Linked DNA regions of Homo sapiens: region 1 is linked to region 2. The links are contacts of gene promoters, found by promoter capture Hi-C in human tissues and cell types (Jung and others, 2019). All regions are on one chromosome and are shown on one strand. Each heading gives the region's core, a stretch centred on a gene start or on the middle of the fragment in contact. The rest is flanking DNA. Distances are from core to core; before and after follow the strand shown.

The links. The method cuts DNA at HindIII sites, captures the fragments that hold promoters and counts their contacts. A contact is called where the count stands out against the background at its distance.
Region 1: the fragment with the promoter of SLC16A8 here is called in contact with a fragment that was not itself captured in region 2 in 3 of the 25 tissues and cell types used here (dorsolateral prefrontal cortex, lymphoblastoid cells and spleen).

The regions. Positions count from the first base shown.
Region 1 is chr22:38,082,818-38,085,523 of GRCh38, forward strand. It overlaps SLC16A8 (solute carrier family 16 member 8), which reads right to left and starts at 1,367. Exons shown (of 6, transcript NM_013356.3): 1 at 1,171-1,367; 2 at 225-544; 3 at 1-64. The coding sequence starts at 56. BAIAP2L2 (BAR/IMD domain containing adaptor protein 2 like 2) reads right to left here. Exons shown (of 14, transcript NM_025045.6): 14 at 2,083-2,558. The coding sequence ends at 2,483. RefSeq lists an enhancer at 851-1,632. The HindIII fragment of the contact is 9,296 bases long and covers 1-2,706 here.
Region 2 is chr22:38,320,291-38,322,990 of GRCh38, forward strand. All of the region lies in intron 5 of TPTEP2-CSNK1E (TPTEP2-CSNK1E readthrough), which reads right to left. Among named protein-coding and RNA genes, the nearest start is that of CSNK1E, 4.2 kb to the left of the region's middle. RefSeq lists an enhancer at 1,984-2,700. The HindIII fragment of the contact is 6,679 bases long and covers 1-2,700 here.

The DNA of each region.
Region 1 (2,706 bases), core at 117-2,616, 240 kb before region 2:
CAGCCCCAGCCGCCGTCTGGGGGGCCCTCGCCCCGCCGGGGGCCGCCAGCGCCCATCGCTGCCTCTGTTGGGAGGGGGCGGGGACAAGAGGGAGGGGCTGGGCCAGCAGCCTAGAGAAGGAGGGGGATGGAGACGAAGCATGGGGAAACTGAGGCACAGGGCTACCCACGTGAGGGTGGCTCAGGTCTGGGAACCAAAAGGGGAAACGGAGGTAGGACTCTCACCCCAAGTCTCCTTCTCCTGCAAAGGGCGCTGAAGGACGAGGGGAGGACGACGGGTCCCACCTGACTCTGCACCTCTGCAGGCTCCCTCTGAAGGACAACTGCTGGCCCCTCAGGGCCTCAGGTGGAAGGCGTCGGGAAGTGGAGCAGGTATGTGCCTGGAGGTGGGCGTCCAGCACCAAAGTCGCCCCGTACGCGTGAGGGTCTCGGGACAACAGAACAAACAGCAGAGGGGCAGATGCCGGCTGCAAAGGGCCGCTGTGCGTGATTTTCCTCTTTAGCCTTCCGCCATGTTCCTAATGTTTCTCAGTGATCACAAATGACTATTGTCATTAGAACATTAAGGGGACAAAAGCCACTTTCAACAGATATCAGCCAGGGGAGCTGAGTTCCCATGCATCTCAGCTCAGCCATGGATTCCCTCCCTGACTTGGGCCGGTCGCCTCCCCTCTCCCAACCTCCCTTTCCTCCGATGTAAGATGGGTGATTGATCACCCCGAGGCCAGCTGGGAATCTTGCGGGAGAGGAGTCAGGTCTCTGGCTTCTGCCAGACAGGTAGGAACCTTAGCAGCACTGAGAGAGTGGCCTTCTGCCCTCCAAACCTCAAACCCTCTATATGAAAAGAATGGCTCCAAAGCCTGTCTCATTCCTGGGGCTCCACCCGGGGCCCTCACAGCAGTTACAAGCGCCCCCATAACAGATGAGGAGGGTGTACTCAGAGACAGGTGCACCAGGAGCCGGGGGCTGGGGATAGCCTCCTGCCCTCCTGCCTGGAGTGTCCCTCCTGGCACTGGGCAGTGCCACCACCCCCAGGGTATCCGGGACTCTGCCCCTCCTCCACTAGGACCAGGTTGTGGCTTTTCCTGCCTGTTGTCCTCTTGTCACAGGGGCAGCCACTTGAAGGTGGAGACAGGAGGGTGATCCCAGGCAGCCCTCACATCACACTCACCTGAGCCTGCCTCGTGGGTTTGGGGGTCCAGCCTCACATCTCCTGAGGCCTGCAGGGAGGGGCCGCCGCCGCAGCTCCCGGTGAAGCTTACCCGGATGGGGGCTGCCAGACACCCCAGCTTCCCACCAGCCTGGGCTGAGCCTCTGGCCGACTCCCGCCTGACGCTCCCTGCCCCAGGCCTGGAGCTTAGAGTGTGTGCCCCCACCACACCTCACCCCTGCTAAGAGGCTTTTGTCCAGGAGGGGAGAAGAGACTGGGAGCCCCAGGCCAGGCTGGGCCTCGGCGGTGGGCTCCCTGTCCCAAGCCAGTCCAGGAGGGAGGAAGAGAATCCCTGTGCCTCCTGGAGCCTGGGGTGGTAGACACAGAGACCTTGCCCAGGGGGTCCTAGTCTGGTGCTGGGGGCACAGCCCTGCCCTGAAGAGACCCCAACGGTTCTAATCACCTCAGTGCCTCATCTGCCCCCGCCCCAACCCCCCGCCCCAGGCCACATTCCAGGAGGGGCTGGCAGCTTTCTCTAGAATGAAGCTAATCCACGCCTGTGCCTGGGAATGTGGGGGGGGGAGGGGCCAAAACAAAGGGTGCTGTGTCCAGGCCGCCTGAGGGCAGCTTGCTGGTGGTCCCAGCCCTTGGCCACTGCCACCTCTCCCCTGACCCGAGCAGCCGCTACTTCCTAGGAAACCCACAGGTCGAAATGAGAGCAGGTGGAGATGGGGGCTGCAGCGCGAGGGCTTTGGGGCAGCCCTAAAGAGTTCTCCAAACAAACAAACAAGGGGCTGGGAGTGAGATGGCTTCCCGGGGAACAGCCAGGACCTCAGTACCCCCTAGACCCCATTCTCCAATGGGGGAGTCTCTATCCCTCACCCCCTGCCCTGTCCCCCAAATAAGACACCACCAGTCCTGCTGCCGCATCACTTTGCGTCCACTTCCTTTATTTCTCATCATTTACAAAAGATGTACAGAGAGGGCATGTGTTGGGCACGGAGCAGGTACAAGGGGCTCCTCCCCACGGGGGCAGAAAAGGGGGAAAGAGGTTAGGGGGCAAGAGGTGGGCCCCCCAGGGAGAGTCCTGGAGCCCCTGGAGGGGGAGAAATTGTCCTGTCCCCCCATTCCGCCTGCTTTACTTTGAAGGTCTCGGACCCCAAGCCAGTGCTTTGGAGCTGCTCAGGCTGCCGGGGTGGTCTGGGGAGGGCAGCCACCCCCCGTCTCAGGGACCCGCTTCTTGGATCTGCTGCTGTTGCTGCTGTCGCTGCCATTGCCAGCTCTGAACAGCCCCTGGGCAGGTGCACTGTGGGGTACGACCTCGGACCCCGCCTCAGCGGATGAGGGGTGCTGAGCGGTCATTGGTGATGGTGGGACGAAGCTTGACAGTGGCAAAAGGATTTGTGCCCCTGTAGGAGGAGAGAGAGAATGGGGTGAGAAGGGCAGATGATCCCCACCTGGCCATGGCTCAGGAAGGCAGCTGGGCAACTGAGCTGGGTCCTGCCTCCTGCCCCTATTTGGTCTCCATCCACTCCTTGCCCCGCTTCATCTTTTTTT
Region 2 (2,700 bases), core at 100-2,599:
GCGGAGGTTGCAGTGAGCCGAGATCGTACCATTGCACTCTAGCTTGGGCGACAGAGCGAGACTCCGTCTCAAAAAAATAAATAAAAAACAAAACAAAACAAAAAACCCAAGGGTGTGGCAAAGTTCCCCTAGCTACCTTCTCTGCAAGCCAACAAGAAGATGAAATCAGGCTAGAATAGGTGTGGGGTGAATTGCCAGCTCCCAAGGGGCCCACCCTGGGTTTCAGCTGCTCTGCATTGGTTCAGGAATAGTGGCTCTCACAACACCTTTCCAAACTGGCTTTTGTCTTTTTTTTAGAGGCTCATTCTGTCACCCAGGCTGGAGTGCAGTGGCAGGATCATACCTCGCTGTAGCCTCAAATTCCTGGGCTCAAGCGATCCTCCTGCCTCAGCCTTCCAAGTAGCTGGGACTACAGGCATGCACCACCACACCCAGCTAATTTTTAAATTTTTTATAGAGATGGGGTCTTACTGTGTTGCCCAGACTGGTCTGAAACTCCTGGGCTCAAGTGACCCTTCTGCCTCGCCCTCCCAAAGTGCTGTGATTACAAGTGTGAGCCACTGTGTTCCCAAACTGACATTTTTTACCTGCTCCCTATTTCAGACCCTTCAAGATCACTTGGCACGCAGGAGCACTGGGCTGGGATCCCAAGGACAGCCCTGGAATTCCCAGATAATGACGATATGGCTGCAGATAAACCCAGAAAGATTTCAGTACCTGCCCCAGGAATCTCAGTCTTGACTAAGGACTCATAGATTTACTAAACATCAAGGGCTGGCCTGAAAACGGCCCTCCAGGATCTGTCCTCCACTCCCCGCACCTGGCTCTCCTGACCTCAGCTCCTGTAAGTTTTCTTCTTGCTCACAGCCCTGTAGCCTCACTGGCCTCCCATGGAATGAACCTCTGGCCTCAGGGCCTTGGCAGGGGCTGTTTCCACTGCCTGGTGCGCTCTTCCCGCAGAGCACCAACCCCCCTCACCTCTCACCTTTCTCAAGTCCCCTTCAGAGGTAGGCCCTCCTGGTCTCCCAGTTTATTTATTTATTTATTTTTTGAGACAGAGTCTGGCTCTGTCTCCCAGGCTGGAATGCAGTGGCCCGATCTCGGCTCACTGCAACCTCCGCCTCCCGGGTTCAAGCAATTCTCCTGCCTCAGCCTCCAGAGTAGCTGGGATTACAGGCGTCCACCACCATACCTGGCTAATTTTTGTATTTTTAGTAGAGATGGAGGTGTCACCATGTTACCCAGGCTGGTCTTAAACTCCTGACCTCAGGTGATCCGTCCGCCTCAGCCTCCCAAAAAGCTGGGATTACAGGTGTGAGCCACCACGTCTGGGCCCAGTCTCCCAATTTAAAATCCTGGCGCTGGGCCACAGGCGGTGCCTCACACCTGTAATCCCAGAACTTTGGGAGGCAGAGGCAGGCGTTGCTTGAGCTCAGGAGTTTGAGACCAGCCTGGATAACATGGCGAAATGCTCTCTCTACAAAAAATACAAAAATTAGCTGAGCATGGTGGCTGGGTGTGGTGGTGCATGCCTGTAGTCCCAGCTACTTGGGAGGTTGAGGTGGGAGAATCACCGGAGCCCAAGGAGGTTGAGACTGCAGTGACCCTTGATCATACCACTGCACTCCAGCCTGGACAGCAGAGTGAGACCTTGTCTCAAAAAAAAAAAAAAAAGAGTGAGACCGTGTCTCAAAAAATAAAAATAAATAAATAATTTAAAAATAATAATAATAAAGGCCAGGCACAGTGGCTCACACCTGTAATCCCAGCACTTTGGTTAGGAGGCCGAGGCAGGTGGATCACTTGAGGTCAGGAGTTTGAGACCAGCCGGCCAACATGGTGAAACCCCATCTCTACTAAAATACAAACATTAGCTAGGAGTGGAGATGTGCGCCCGTAATCCCAGCTACTTGGGAGGCTGAGGCAGGAGAATTGCTTCAGCCTGGGAGGCAGAGGTTGCAGTGAGCCGAGATCGTGCCACTGAACTCCCGCCTGGATGACAGAGCAAGATTCCATCTCAAAAAAAAAAAAAAAATAGGCCAGGCTCGGTGGCTCATGCCTGTAATCCCACCACTTTGGGAGGCCGAGGCAGGCAGATCACGAGGTTAGGAGTTTGAGACCAGCCTGGACAACATGGAAAACCCTGTCTCTACTAAAAATAAAATAATAATAATAATAATAATAAAACCCCATCCCCATGGGTCACTGCCTTCCCCTTCTCTGCTGTCTGTTTCTGTTTTTTTGTTGTTGTTGTTGTTGGTTTTTTGAGATAGAGTTTTGCTCTTGTTGCCCAGGCTGGAGTGCAATGGCGCGATCTCGGCTCGGCGTGATCTCGGCTCACCGCGATCTCGGCTCACTGCAACCTCCGCCTCTCGGGTTCAAGCGATTCTCCTGCCTCAGCCTCCCGAGTAGTTGGGATTATAGGCATGTGCCACCACGCCCGGCTAATTTTGTATTTTTAGTAGAGACAGGGTTTCTCCATGTTGGTCAGGCTGATCTTGAACTCCCGACCTCAGGTGGTCCACCCGCCTTGGCCTCCCAAAGTGCTGGGATTACAGGCATGAGCCACCGGGCCGGGCCGGGCCTCTGCTGCCTGTCTCTTTTTCTCCTGGCCTGTATCACTATTTAACATGCTCTGTAGGGAACTCCACATCACTATCTAACATGCTCTGCAGGGAATTTTTATTTTTTTGTCTGCAT